Linked DNA regions of Homo sapiens: all the other regions are linked to region 3. Evidence: promoter capture Hi-C in 16 types of primary human blood cells and fetal thymus (Javierre and others, 2016). All regions are on one chromosome and are shown on one strand. The core of a region is centred on a gene start or on the middle of the fragment in contact, and the rest is flanking DNA. Distances in the headings are between cores, read along the strand shown.

Region 1 (3,891 bases), core at 153-2,652, 410 kb after region 3:
AAAGAAGAAAAATTGTGGTATACAATGAAATACTGAAATACTACGCAGCAATACAAATGAGCAAACAATTGATTCATGCAACAAGATAATGGATTAACCTTAAAATAGTTATGTTTACTGAAAAAGCCAGAGCCCCACCCCCTAAAAAGTACACACCATATGGTTTCATTTATAAAATTATAGAAAATGCTTGCTGTTGCTTGTGAATTGTGGAAAACAAGATAAGGAAAAATTGAGGATTATAAAGGGACAATCTTTTGTTGTGTTGGATATCTTGACTGTGGTGGTTTCATAGGTGTACACACATGCTGAAACAGCACATTTTACACTTTACATATTTGCAGTTTATTGCATGTTAATCATACCTCCATAAAGCTATTAAATAAATGTTCCTCATTAAAATCTATATATACTGTTCCACTAGGAAAGTTAGATCTGTCAACTATTTTGGCTTTACCATATTCCTCTCCCTACAATTTAGGAGAGTGAGCCCTGCCTCAATGTTGGTAAAAATTGGTAAGCAATGATGTCCACATCCACCTCAGTCACTCGGAATGCTGGCTGGGTCAGAGAAGACCCATCCCTGGATCTCTCTTCTGTCACTGCTGAGGTTCCTGTCTGTGCAGGTCAACTGCCCAGGGAGACACAGGAATCCACAAACATTTAGATTATTTCCTCTGACAGTGGCCTTGGCCACAGGAGATACAGATGTCTGAAGGTCCTGAGAATTTCTATGCACTCCCATCCCACACCATCATAACTGCACCGAGACTTGTGGATGCCCCTCTAGAATGTTCGAATCTCCTTTTGTTTGCCACAGTCATCCCCACTCCATTATCTCAGTGCTTCTGTAGCAATCATGATTTTCACATTGCCCTACAGAGGTCTTACAGTCAATGTTACTTGCCTATGGGGTTCTGGATATCAGGGACTTGATCCTGTACAGGTACAGAAGACAGCAATCCCTCAACAGTGCTGGGGAGTACGTGACAGTTAAGGGACCCAACTTATGTTGCTTCCACAAGCACAGGAGATTTTCGCACCAACTATGCCCTCCTCACTGGGCTCACAGGAAATCCTGGCAGCCAGGCCACAAAGTTAGGCACAAAAATTTTTTCAGTCTTTCCTAGCAAGCCTAGGGCAATAGTGTAAATTAGGTCAAACTAGACTGAGAACAGTTTTCTGCCATCCTTTGGTCCCCTCTGAGGCACATAAAGGTGGTGCCCACAAAAGGTGCTACTCCCTTCATGACAGAACCCAATTCTTTTCTCAATCCACTCTACACAGTAACAAAATCCCCAAGAGTAAAGACTGCCACAATAGGCCCTTATCACTGTATAAATCAGAGCAGCATGGGACAAGCAGTTCCAAATTTGGGCGATTTGGCAGTAAGACAAGTAAGTCACAGCTATCACGTTTACAGTTAACATTGTCCATGAAGATGGAAAATCGTGTCAGGAAATCCCAGCAGACCCTAGCTCAGGTCCTTTTGGTGAGAGCTAGATCATGTTTGCTCAGAACCTAATCATGAGGGAAAAGATGAGGACCCTCAATGGTAGGGGGTGAAGTGGGGGGGGGGGGAAGTCCTTGAAAATATTCATGATTACCTGTAGGGAACAGGAAAGAAAGCACAGAAGTCTGCCTTCCCTGAGCAAAATGGAGTGATTGACACACACAGCTGGTAGCAATAAGATGGCTTCCGCCACAGGCACTGGCAGTGATATAATTCCATCAAGAGCTCTAGACAGTTACAAAGTGCAACACACCTCATGAAAGCCTCCCACATATGTGGTGCTTATCAGGAATCTCCCCAGGGTGGAATGAATATACGGTGCTCATCTGCTAGCTGATGGTTCCCTCACAAAGGGTACTCACAGAGCATTGCTCTGGTGTGAGTCCTATGAGGATGAACAAGATGACATATTTTCTGCATTCATAAGGCCTTTCTCTTGTGTGAATTTTCTGGTGTTAAACAAGTTTAAGAGATGCAGCTAAAGGGCCACCAAAACTGTTGCACTCGTGAGCTCTTTCTCCAGTGTGAGCTTTCTGGTGACGAACAAGATGGGAGCTTCTGCTATAGGCTTTCCCACATTCGCTGCATACGTAAGGCTTTTCTCCAGTGTGAACCCTCTGGTGCAGAATGAGGCCAGAGTTGCGGCTAAAGAATTTCCCACATTCACTGCACTCATAAGGTCTTGCTCCAGTGTGAACTTTCTTGTGTTGAACAAGGTGGGAGCTACTAATGTAAGCCTTCCCACATTCACTGCACACATAAGGCCTTGCTCCTGTGTGAACTCTCTGGTGCAAAATGAGGCTGGAGTTGTGGCTAAAGCATTTCCCACATTCATTGCACTCATAAGGCTTTGCTCCAGTGTGAATTCTCTGGTGTACAATAAGGTTGGAGCTATGGCTGAAGAATTTACCACATTCACCACACTCATAAGGCCTTTCTCCAGTGTGGATTTTTTGGTGTTGCACAAGTGTGTCTTTACGGCTGAAGGCCTTCCCACATTCACTGCACTCATAAGGCCTTGCTCCAGTGTGAATTATCTGGTGCTGAACAAGTGTGTCTTTGCAGCCAAAGGCCTTCCCACATTTGCTGCACACGTAGGATCTTGCTCCTGTGTGGACTCTCCGATGTTTAATGAGGCTAGAGTTATGGCTAAAGAATTTTCCACATTCTATGCATTCATAGGGCCTTGCCCCGGTATGAATTCTCCAGTGCTCAATAAGGTGGGAGCTTTGGCTAAAGAATTTTCCACATTCACTGCACTCATAAGGCCTTTCTCCAGTATGAAATCTCTGGTGCTGAACAAGTGTGTCTTTACGGCTAAAGGCTTTCCCACATTTGTTGCACTTATAAGGCCTTTCTCCTGTGTGAATTCTCTGGTGCTGAACAAGGTGGGAGCTTCTGCTGTAGGCTTTTCCACATTCACTGCAGTCATAAGATCTTTCTCCAGTGTGAACTCTCTGATGCTGAACAAGTGTGTCCTTGCGGCTGAAGGCCTTCCCACATTCACTGCATGTATAGTGTCTTTTTCCAGTGTGAAATTTCTGGTGCATTTTTAGGTGGTGCAAGTGAATGAAGGCTTTTCCACACTCCTTACACACATGAGATATTTCTCCACTGTGGATTTTTCTGTGATTAATAAGAGCTGATTTCTCCTTGAACACATTTCCACATGGTAGGCATCTGAAGGGTCTCACCTCAGCATGAGTCATCTGGCTGTCAAGAAGAGTAAAGGTGTCCAGGAAGGCTTTCCCTTCATCACCGCAACTGAAAAGCATCTGTCCATCATAGTCTCCTTGGTGTTGCCTGAGACTGGAGCTGTGTGGGAAAGACTCCATGCATTCAGTCCTTCTGCATGGACTCACCCTATTGTAAGTGGTCTGGTGCTGGAAAAGGCCAGAGCTATCTGGTAAGTCCATCCCTTCCTCCCTGCACGTAAAGGATCTCCCTAACATGTGGACTGTACAGCTCTTCACAAATGAGGCCCCTCCATCATCCCCTCTGAAGCAATTCTCTCCATTATGTTGCTTCTGGTGCTGGTAAAAGTTTGCACTGAACGAGAATCTTCTCCTACACAGCCCACGTGTGCACAGTTTCTGTGTAAGGTGTGATCCCTGGTGTTCAGCCAGGTGCAAAATGTCTTTCAAGAGTGGGTCACACATCTCACATGGGTGTGCTTTCTGGAAAAGACCTGACTCAGCAGTCCTGACCTGTGACACTCCTTCTACAGAAACGCTCTGCTCAGAAGGTGCCTCATGTTCTGCTTCACACCAAAAACCTGAAAGCAAAAAAGAGCTGGTGAAGTGCATGCTGACTTTGGTGGGAGGCAGCAGCCCCATCACAAATGTGTGTCTAACACCAGTGCGAGTCCACTGGCTTGT
Region 2 (3,527 bases), core at 356-2,855, 300 kb after region 3:
GTGGGTCATATCCATCTTGTCCTTTCCCTGTCTGAATTCCTCTGTCTGTATCCATGACACCTCTGTGCCTGGGATTCTGCGCTCTTCCTTTAGCTGACATTTCCTGTGGCCTGCCTATGTCAGGAATTGTAGGGACCATTATGGTCGCTACTTGCTAGGACCACTGCACTATTCCTGCAAGACCTTACTCTGAGATTATTTTAATAATATTTAGTTTTCTATATGGGTTACCCAGACCAGTGCTGTTCTATCTTTCCCTTAGGACATACATCTTTCATGTCCCACATAGTTGCCTCACTGGTGATGGGTAGTGAGCCCTGGGTACCTGACTGGGTGGACATGACCCTAGCTGTTGCCACAGAGACTCCAGGTGGGAGTGACCCTGGTGAGTAGGAGCTGGGGAAAGGTGTGATGTCAGGGCTGGGTTCATATCATTCCATAGCCTCTTTGTGCCTACAGTTGTATTAGTGCTAAGGCCACTGGCCTTTCATACTCTGGCCTTTGGCCTCTGGATGTTCCATACCTCTGCCTTCATGTCTCACCTGTTCCTCTCCATGGCTTGTTCTACAGTGCCTTCCAGCATTGGCCTGTACTTAGTGTTTCATGAGATGTGTAGCCCAAATAGTCCTTAAACACCAACTACTGAGTAGCAATTTGATTTTCTTTGGTATGGACCATAACCTTCTGCACAACTCTCACCTGTCCCCAGCAGCCAAGAAAATCTGATTGTGAATGACTTTGAGACCTGCCTCTTTTTTGTGCTGTACCCCACATCTTTGTCCTCTCCCAGTTGAGGCCTTCTCCATTCTATGACATTTAGATGCCAACTACCGTATAGTACACATTTGCTGAACTTGAGTTTGGACCCTTGTCCTAACAACAGTCCTATGACCTTGGTCTTAGTTGTGTTAGACACATATTTGTAGTGAGGCTTCCCCTCTTCCACCTGTGTCAATTTGTACTTCACCAGCATTTCTCTGCTTTCAGGTTGTTGGCATGGAATGGAGGATGAAGAGATACCTTTTGAGCAGAGCTTTTCTATAGGAATGTCACAGATCAGGATTCCCAAGGGAGGTCCTTCTACTCAGAAGGCTTACCCCTGTGGGACATGTGGCCTGGTCTTAAAAGACATTTTGCACTTGGCTGAGCACCAGGAAACACACCCAGGGCAGAAACCATACATGTGTGTGCTGTGTGGGAAACAGTTCTGCTTCAGTGCAAACCTTCACCAGCACCAGAAGCAGCACAGTGGAGAGAAACCCTTTAGAAGTGATAAGAGCAGGCCCTTTCTTCTGAACAACTGTGCTGTGCAATCAATGGAGATGTCTTTTGTGACAGGGGAGGCTTGTAAGGACTTCCTAGCCAGCTCAAGCATTTTCGAGCACCATGCCCCTCACAATGAGTGGAAGCCACACAGCAACACCAAGTGTGAGGAGGCCTCTCACTGTGGAAAAAGGCATTACAAATGCAGTGAATGTGGGAAAACCTTCAGCCGCAAAGACTCACTTGTTCAACACCAGAGAGTCCACACTGGAGAAAGGCCTTATGAGTGCGGTGAATGTGGGAAAACCTTTAGCCGCAAACCCATACTTGCTCAGCACCAGAGAATCCACACTGGAGAAATGCCTTATGAGTGTGGCATATGTGGGAAAGTTTTTAATCATAGCTCTAACCTTATTGTACATCAAAGAGTACACACTGGAGCAAGGCCTTACAAGTGCAGTGAATGTGGGAAAGCCTATAGTCACAAATCTACACTTGTTCAGCATGAGAGTATCCATACTGGAGAAAGGCCATATGAGTGCAGCGAATGTGGAAAATACTTTGGTCACAAATACAGACTCATTAAACATTGGAGTGTTCATACTGGAGCAAGGCCTTATGAGTGCATCGCATGTGGGAAGTTCTTTAGCCAAAGCTCTGACCTTATTGCACATCAAAGAGTTCATAATGGTGAAAAGCCTTATGTGTGCAGTGAATGTGGAAAAGCCTTTAGCCACAAACATGTACTTGTTCAGCATCATAGAATTCACACTGGAGAAAGGCCATATAAGTGCAGTGAATGTGGGAAGGCCTTCAGGCAGAGGGCTTCCCTCATCCGCCACTGGAAAATTCACACTGGAGAAAGGCCTTAGGATGGGAGATAATTCCGTTTCCTTGTTCAACATAATAACTGACATCAGAGAGAAGCTCCAAGCATAGCCTTTATGTGTAGCCGACAGCCAGAAGTAGAACTTTATACACTCAAACACTCACCCTGGGGAGGTTCTTCCGAGTGCCAGCTATATGGGAAGCCTTCTGGAGCTATGCTGAATTTTCTAGACTCTTGCTGGAATTTCGTCAAGGCAGTGCCTGTTAGAAGCCATCTGTCTTTGTGCTGGAAGAGTCCTGCCTTGTGCCAAAGTAACCCCAATGTGTTTCAAAAGACAGACCTCTGTACTATTCCCTTCCCTGGAGGGAATCATCAGTAGCCTGAGGCCATCAAGGATTCTCACTTTTTTTCTGCCCCACTACTGGTTTAAGCATGAGCATGACCCAGTTTTAGCCAGAAAAATGGGAGCTTTGTTCTGCTGACCACTGGCAGAGGTTTCCCTTCATGGATATAGTTGATCTCACATGGCACTTGGGACGAATTTTTCTAGCCTTCAAGACACCTGACCTGAAATTGGCTGCCTCATATTCTGGTTTTGCAACAAATGCCTTAATTTTTAGACTATCTGAAATCTTGAGGATTCTGTTCGCTTTGTGGGTTGGGTTGAGAACAGAATTGAGCTAAGCCAGTATGAAGGGAAGAACAGCTTTTGTGAGAGCTCCAACTATCTGTATCTCTGAAGTGATAGTAGGATGGCAAAGACTAGCTCTTATGCTAGTGTCAAGCTAACTTACTTGACTGCTTCAGCTCTCCTAGGAAAGAATGCCAGTCTTTGTAGGCCTAATCTTTTGGTCTATATGTTAAGATTTTTTGTGTAATTGAGGTCACCCTAAGCAGTGGGCATTTGTTGTGATAATCTCTAATGTGTCTGGGAGCAACATGAATTACGTCCCTTGTTCCCAGAAGATACTTCATATTCCCAAGGCTTCTTGAGGAGAATTTGAACTCAGTGGACATGTCAAGATCTCTGAAGTCTATTTTTCAGTAGGCAGTTGATATTGGCTGTCCTCCAGAAGGCCCAGGTAGGAATCATAGTTGGTGCAGAAACCCAGATTAATAAAGGAATGAGAAAACTGCAGCAAACTATAGGGAATATGACCCTTCTAAAGGTACATCCACATGTGTTTCCATTACTCTGGCTCCATTATGAGGGTTTACAGAAATATTTCCATACCTGTGTCTCTTATGGCTAAGGTTACTGTCCAGAAGTCAGTCTAAACATTTTTGCAATAAACTGCACATATTTATAGTGTACCATTTGATAAGTTTTGATACATGTTGGCACTTCTCAAACCAAAAGTTTCCTGATTCCTTTTATATTTTCTCCCTTTCCTTCACCCATCCCCAGGCAACTATTGATCCGTTGTCACTGTAG
Region 3 (3,795 bases), core at 1,252-3,751:
TGTTTCCTGAATCCTCTCAAGCTCTCACTGTTCACATTTAAAAATTGAGTTGCCAGGCTGGGCACGGTGGCTCAAGCCTGTAATCCCAGCACTTTGGGAGGCCAAGGCGGGTGGATCACGAGGTCAGGAGTTCGAGGCAGCCTGGATAATATGGCGAAACCTAGTCTCTACTAAAAATACAAAAATTAGCTGGGTGTGGAGGCGCGCGCCTGTAATCCCAGCTACTTCGGAGGCTGAGGCAGGAGAATCGCTTGAACTCAGGAGGCGGAGGTTGCAGTGAGCCAAGATTCCACTATTGCACTCCAGCCTGGGCAACAGGTCCAGACTCCATCTTGGGAAAAAAAAAATTGACTTGCCCCTCTAAAAAACACAAATCCAGATCTAGCCACATTGCCTAAGCCACAACTCTAGTCCATTAATCCTCACCTCGACTAGGGCAGTAGCTTCCAGTTTGATCTTCCTCCTCCCTCAACCCCACAGTCTGTTGCCCACTCAGTAACCAGACAGCGCCTATTAAGAAATTGGTAACATCACCTCACCCCTCTAGTTTCACTTCTAAGTAAGTATTTGCACACCCCAGTATCAGTTCCTGGGTGAACCCTCCACATGTGTTACATTAGTTGACAGACATAGCAACAACTCCCCATAACCTATGTCACTGATGTAGGTTTGGGGTTTGAGGTTTTTCCAAGATCCCCAGATTGAAGGACCGGAGAAATGGCACTTAAGTGTCCTAGGAGGTGCGGTAGTTCCTGCTTGGCATCCCAGCACTTTGGGAAGCCGAAGCAAGAGGACTGCTTGAGCCCAAGGGTTCGAGACTAGCCTGGGCAACATGGCGAAACCCCATCTCTCTCTCTCTCTTTTTTTTTTTTTTTTCAGACGGAGTCTTTCTCTGTCGCCCAGGCTGGAGTGCAGTGGCGCGATCTCGGCTCACTGCAACCTCTGCCTCCCGGGTTCAAGCGATTCTCCTGCCTCAGCCTCCCAAGTAGTTGGGACTACAGGTGTGTGCCACCAGGCCTGGCTAATTTTTTGTATTTTTAGTAGAGGGGGGATTTCACCGTGTTAGCCAGGATGGTCTCAAACTCCTGACCTCGTGATCCGCCCGCCTCGGCCTCCCAAAGTGCTAGGATTACAGGCGTGAGCCACCGCGCCCGGCCGTGAAACCCCACCTCTACTAAAAATACAAAAAGCCAGTTACTCGGGAGACTGAGATGAGAGGCTCTCCTGAGCCCGGAGAGGTCGAGGCCGTGCTGCGCCGTGATCGCGTCACCGCAACCCAGCCTGGGTGTTGAGTGAGAACCCGTCGCCGAAAAAAAAAAAAGATGCCAAGATCTAGACATGTGGGATAGGATGAGGACCAGTGAAGGACTAGAGCATCCCCTACTTCCTACTGTGGATTCTGTAAGTGCTTCTGTAGCCATGAGGTGTGCCAAAAGGCAGGGCTTTCACAAATGTGTCTGTGCTCGGATTTGATAGACTCAGGCTTCTCTGTAAGCTTTTTTTGGCCCTGCAGCCAGATGACTTCAGACTGAGTCTCTAATCTTGTGGCCCAGTGCTCAATGTCACCTCTCAATGATTCAACCTCTCAATGTCCTCATCACTGCCTTCAACTCTGTTCTTCCTTCGAACATCTTTTGGGAATCGCAACTCTAACACAGATTTCCTCCTTTGTTCAAAACTGTCCATGGCTTTTAGCGTCCTCACAGTCAAAGTTCAACCCTCAGCCTGGTACTGAAGAAACAACTCCGCCTCGGCCAGGCGCGGTGGCTCACGCCTGTATTCCCAGCACTTTGGGAGGCCGAGGTGGGCGGATCACCTAAGGTCAGGAGTTCGAGGCCAGCCTAGCCAACATGGTGAAACCCCGTGGTGGCGCATGCCTGTAATCCCAGCTACTCGGGAGGCTGAGGCAGGAGAATCGCTTGAACCGGGGAGGTGGAGCTTGCAGTGAGCCGAGATCGCGCCACTGCACTCCAGCCTGGGCGACAGAGTGAGACTCCGTCTCAAAAAAAAAAAAAAAAAGAAATAACTCCGTATCACACTTCTTTCCCAGTAGACACACGATGTCCCCGTGTTCCGCATCCTCCTGCCTCAGTCGCGCCTGCAGGCCTTTGCCCTCCGCCAGTCTCGCTCTGCCGACCGCATCAACTGGGTGTCGGAAACAGGGATCCCACCCGCCGGCGCCTCTCCGTCCCTGACAGAGGCCTGGGCTGCAGGGACGCGAGGAGGCGGCCCTCACGATCAGGGGCCTCAGGGTCTGGGTGGGTAGGGTGGGTAAGGCCCGGAGGTCGCAGCGCTCACCTGAGCAGGCGCCCTCAGAGCGGCTGCTGCCGCCATGACTCTGGGCGGGGGGGGAACGCGGGCTCGGCGGTGTTCCTGTCGTTGTCCTGTCCCGGGTCGCGACCAGCGGCGTCGCCGAACCTCAGATCCGCCTGTGTGCAATGGCCACAACCACTCCTCCCGAGCTCGTCCAGACCCAGCATCGCCGGATGGACCTGACAGGCCAAAATGGCTGCCACGGCTAGGACGCCGGAAGTCCTGGCTTGACTTTACGTGCCCCGGCAATGGCACGGCTTCTCTGAAGCTTCATTGGCTCAGCCACGTTACCATTTCGCAGGGCGGATTCTGGGTAATGTAGTTCCCAGACATGGGCAGCGCTTAAGGTGGCTTTCTTCCGACTTTCCGAAGAAAGGGGCAAGCTCCACTGCGAGGGGCGCTAGGAAATGGCGACTCCAGGTCCAGATGCGGAGGAGGGTCTCCCATCTTAGAAGAGGCCATACGCACATTTCTGGGGGTACTGTGTGCAACTGATTGCCCGCGTGTTTGGAGACTTCTTATTTCAGAATTTGTGATGCTCGGCTTCTTCCTTTTTTTTTTTTTTTTGTCTTTTTTTTAAGACATAGTTCTCTCTGTCACTCAGGCTGGGGTGCAGTGGTGTGATCTTGGCTCACTGCAGCCTATGCCTCCCGGGTTCAAGCGATTCTCGTGCCTCAACCATCCGAGTAGCTGGGATTACAGGCGTGTGCCACCATACCCTGCTAATTTTTGTATTTTTAGTAGAGACGGGGTTTCCTCATTTTGGCCAGGCTGGTCTCGAACTTCTGGCCTCAAGTGATCTGCCTGCAATGGTCTACCGAAGTGCTAGGATTACAGGCGTGAACCACCGTTCTCAGCCCATTAGCAACACTTTTATTTATATCTTTAACCTACAGATTCCTCTAGAAATCTGATATCAACATCAAAAAGCTAATGAGACAAATGCTATTATGTTACAGGACAATGGCTGCGGTGTTCAAACATGGAGTATGTATGCATGAGAGAAGAGAGAGACCCTCTCACATTGTTTTATATTCAGTAAAAACAACAAGGAAGTAAAACCAAAGACAGGCAACCCCGCGCCAGGCCCGAAACCAGGCCTAGGCCCGCCTGGCCTAAACCCAGTAGTTAAAAATCAACTTATGATTTAGAAGCCGATGTTATTCATAGATTCCTTAGATTGTATAGAAGAACATTGTGAAACTCCCTGCCCTGTTCTGTTCCTCCCTGACCACCGGTGCATGCAGCCCCTGTCACATACCCCTTGCTTGCTCAAATCAATCACGACCCTTTCATGTGAAATCTTTAGTGTTGTGAGCCCTTAAAAGGGACAGAAATTGTGCACTCCGGGAGCTCAGATTTTGAGACAGTAGCTGGCCAATGCTCCCAGCTGAATAAAGCCCTTCCTTCTGCAACTCGGTGTCTGAGAGGTTTTGTCTGCGGCTCGTCCTGCTACATGCACAGGGTGCTTTTACACTGAGA
Region 4 (3,875 bases), core at 142-2,641, 380 kb after region 3:
CATACAGTTACGCTTTGGCGTCTGTTTAGTAAGCTTCAATATGTTTGGTCCAGAAGAAGAAAGAAAGACTACGCAGTTAGGGCTATGGACTGGAATTTGTAGGAAGGATGACAGGAGACGCTGAAGTAGGTTGAAAGGGTGAAGCTATGCCTCTGGATCAAAGAGAATACATCTTACCTGACTGTAGAGTCAGCGATTGTGTTCCTACGAAGGGTGCAACGCTTTTATTCTAATAATACTTACTACTTCATATCTGAGATATTTTCCATTTATTTTAAGAATCACAATCCTATCTGAAAATGAGAGTGACGACCAAAATGAGTGATTGAGGCATAAGTCACAAATCATGGAGGATTACTGGACCAGCCTAAGGGCACATCCAGAAAAATGTAAGTCACAGAAGCATCTGTGGCTGGTTTTTCCAAAGAGGTTCTTAGGAGGTTTAGTATTTATTATACATTTTCCTTAAAAAGGAAGAGGGGTTGGCAGTGAGACAAATGATTACAGACATGTGAAACTTTAGTTAGTGCCCAGTAAATCTACATTTTACATAAGATAGAGTAAACACGTGAGGGGAAAAGGGAATAAAGAAGATGTCTCAGAGAAGGATGAAGGAATGAATAATCTCATCTTCTCTCTGTTCTGTACCTTGGAAGATAAGCTAGTAGTCTTCTGAAAAGGTTGATTTCTATTTAGCCCTTAGGGAAGAAAACCTAATGATTGTAGTGTGGTAGGGGATATAATGAGGTGTGTCTGATTTCCCGTTCCTCTATAGTGGTGAATTCAGCTTCCAAAGTTATTCTAGGGTTCTCATGGTCAAGAGGGCATCCATTCAGTCAGTTAGGGGGTGCTTAGAATTTTATTTTTATTTCTCAAGAGCAGCTGATACATGCCATTTCTGGACAACATTGTCTACCGTTTTCATAGTTGAAGCATATGCACATCTTATCCTCAAAAAAGGTGTGGAATTCCATGATGTTATCTTCTTCCTCAGAAGTGATTTAAAATTTCACCTGTGTTTACAACTGTATTTGCACAGGGAGTCGAAATGTGAAAAACACTTGTGAAATAAAAAAATTACCGAAATCTATTAGTAATTATGTAGGTTATTCCAAAAGAAAAAAAACCAGAAGCCCTAGAGAAATCGATCTGTAATGTGAGAAAAAGATAAGATCTCAATGTTTGAGTGAGAGACAGCAAATTCTGAGAAGTCAGAGAATGAAGTTGAACCTGTGGCTCTGCTGGACACTTGGACACACTATGCTTTTGTTTCCAAAATGTAATTTTTTTACACACTTGAAAACATTGCTCATTAACTGCTTAGAGGGGTAAGTACAGATGATAAACTGAAAGACTTGCCACAGATAAAAATGAATAGAGAAGCTGTGTGATAATGTGTATTTACTTCTCTAGTAAATGTTCAATGAGCACATATGTATTGGGTTTCAGATCAATGATAGGTGCATGGGACACACTGGGAATAGGTTTCCCAGCTGCTATGTGTATACAGGACTGTTCTATGTTTTCTTAGATTCTGTATTTGTCTGTTTGATATTCATTAATCACAGGGTCAAACTAATAGAACCAAAGTTGTTTACTTTTTTTCTTGCAAGCCACTTACTCAAGTGCATGAAACTCATATAAAACCCCCCAACCACAAACACTAAAATGTGTTTTTCCTTCCTGCCCATCGACGGTATCTCTACCTCATCATTCTCTGCCACTTTAGTTATAAAGACATACTTCCAGTTACTCTGTTTTCTCTTTCTGCTTTCCAGTCTCTGTATGTAATAAGGTTTCTTGTGGCCTGTGTGGTGTTCAGTGCCTCTTATTTCCAGGGAACTGTAACATTAATCTTTTCTTTTGATGGCAGTGTCCCCTCTGTGTCATTGCTAATTATTAATTAAGACCTGGGCACAGTTTAAGAATATGACCTATATATAACGATTTTTCCTGAATCCTGTATTGACTTATCAGAATGGCCTACATATCCTACATATCAGCTGGTTGTAATATATTACAAAGAATCACCAGTGGGAGACACATTTTTCTCAGACTGTAACTGGCCGTTAAATTACTCATTGGCAACATGAGTTGAAAATCATATCCTCACAAACAAATATCTAGATAATACTTATGATGTCTTAGTCCAGTTAGCGTTGCTATAAATGAATACCTGAAGCTGGTAATTTATAAAGAAAAAAATGTTTATTTGGCTCAAAATGTTGATGTGTGGAAAGTTTAAAATTGGGCATCTGCATCTGGTGAGGGTCTTCGGCGGGTTCTATTCATGGTGGAAAACGAAAGAGAGCTATAATGCGAAGGAATCATATTGCAAGAGAGGAGGACAGTGGGTGGGGAGTGTATCAGGCTCTTTTCAACAACCAGCTTTCTTGGGAACTAATAGAGTGAGAATTTACACATCTTCAAGTGGGGGTATTCAGGTAGGATCTACCCTCATGACCAGAACACCTCCTATTAGGCCCCACCTCAAACATTGGAAATTAAATTTCAACATGAGCTTTGGAAGAGACAAACATCCAAACCATAGCATATGATTTCTTACAAATTCTGGCTGTTGGGAAACCAAAAATGGGGAATGAGAATTAAGTTGCTGGCTTATGTTCAAGTAAGGAAAAAATTTATCTCTGCCCCAAATCCATAATCATAAACAAGAAACCACCATTAATTAGAGATAACTTGGGATGTGTACCTATGCTTTAAAAGTCAGCTAGTCAGCAAAAGCTTCACCCCAGTAATTAACCAGAAACTTAGCAAATCATTGTTAGGCCAAGATTCTAAAATTTTTCCAATGGGGGTAAGGCCCAGTACTAAAGATGGTCAATCAGTGGCAGCCCCAGGCTGCTGGCAACAACTAATCCACAAGTGCCTCCTGTCAGTAATCCTGTTTATGAAAGCCAGTTGGTAAATGGTTGCATTTACACTAACATACCTGAAAGTCCATCAGTCTTTCAACTCTGCTGCTTCTGAAAGTCCTCAGTCCCTGAAGGCCAGCCTTCCTAAAAGCTCATATAATAGCAGTTTTGGCTTTGTTTGAGGAGACTGCCTGACCACTACAGCTCTGCCCTGCAGACAAATAGGAATATCACTTTTTTTCCCTTGAGATATCAAAATCTATTTATTCTTTTTTTTTTTTTTGAGACGGAGTCTCACTCTGTCGCTGGGCTGGAGTGCAGTGGTGTGATCTCGGCTCACTGCAACCTCCGCCTCTCCGGTTCAAGTGATTCTCCTGCCTCAGACTCTCAAGTAGCTGGAACTACATATGCACGCCACCACGCCCAGTTAATTTTTTTGTATTTTTAGTAGAGACGGGATTTCACCATGTTGGCCAGGATGGTCTCGATCTCTTGACCTCATGATCCGCCTGCCTCGGCCTCCCAAAGTGCTGGGATTACAGGCATGAGCCACCACGCCTGGCCCCATTTATTCTTAATTGAATATAAATTATTACTTATATTTTAATTATATGAATATAATTTAAAAGTTTGCAAGCTTTCAATGGTTCCATCTGTTTGTAATTAGTTATGAGTTTGGATATGAAATGGTAGACTAACTGACCCAGACATACATTGTAAAATCCAACGTTTTCTCCAGTGTTTTCTTTTTTCTTTCTTTTCTTTTTTTTTTTTAAGATACAGTTTCACTCTGTCACCCAGCTGGAGTGCAGTGGCGCAATCTCGGCTCACTGCAACCTCTGGCTCCCAGGTTCAAGTGATTCTCATGCCTCAGCCTCCCAAGTAGCTGGGATTACAGGCGCGTGGCACCATGCCTGGCTAATTTTTTGTATTTCTATTAGAGATGGGGTTTCGCCATGTTGGCCATACTGGTCTCGAACTCCTGACCTCAAGTGATCT

What was found. Contacts are between HindIII fragments. The CHiCAGO score rates a contact against its expected background, and 5 or more counts as called.
Region 1: a fragment that was not itself captured here is called in contact with the fragment with the promoter of ZNF586 in region 3 in 1 of 17 cell types (non-activated CD4 T cells); the score reaches 5.6 in non-activated CD4 T cells.
Region 2: a contact is called between a fragment that was not itself captured here and the fragment with the promoter of ZNF586 in region 3, in 14 of 17 cell types (naive CD4 T cells, total CD8 T cells, naive CD8 T cells and 11 more). The highest score is 15.9, in naive CD4 T cells.
Region 4: a fragment that was not itself captured here is called in contact with the fragment with the promoter of ZNF586 in region 3 in 5 of 17 cell types (naive CD4 T cells, total CD4 T cells, fetal thymus and 2 more); the score reaches 9.4 in naive CD4 T cells.

The regions. Positions count from the first base shown.
Region 1 is chr19:57,355,927-57,359,817 of GRCh38, reverse strand. ZNF304 (zinc finger protein 304) reads right to left here. Exons shown (of 3, transcript NM_020657.4): 3 at 1-3,788. The coding sequence ends at 1,969. Among named protein-coding and RNA genes, the nearest start is that of TRAPPC2B, 5.7 kb to the left of the region's middle. The HindIII fragment of the contact is 9,033 bases long and covers 1-3,891 here.
Region 2 is chr19:57,471,882-57,475,408 of GRCh38, reverse strand. ZNF772 (zinc finger protein 772) reads left to right here. Exons shown (of 4, transcript NM_001144068.2): 4 at 988-3,527. The coding sequence ends at 2,135. Among named protein-coding and RNA genes, the nearest start is that of ZNF772, 3.9 kb to the left of the region's middle. The HindIII fragment of the contact is 6,834 bases long and covers 1-3,527 here.
Region 3 is chr19:57,768,382-57,772,176 of GRCh38, reverse strand. ZNF586 (zinc finger protein 586) reads right to left here and starts at 2,501. Exons shown (of 3, transcript NM_017652.4): 1 at 2,299-2,501. The coding sequence starts at 2,334. RefSeq lists enhancers at 2,267-2,516, 2,238-2,777. The HindIII fragment of the contact is 1,086 bases long and covers 1,498-2,583 here.
Region 4 is chr19:57,385,555-57,389,429 of GRCh38, reverse strand. No RefSeq gene overlaps it. Among named protein-coding and RNA genes, the nearest start is that of ZNF548, 2.4 kb to the left of the region's middle. RefSeq lists an enhancer at 1-18. The HindIII fragment of the contact is 2,712 bases long and covers 36-2,747 here.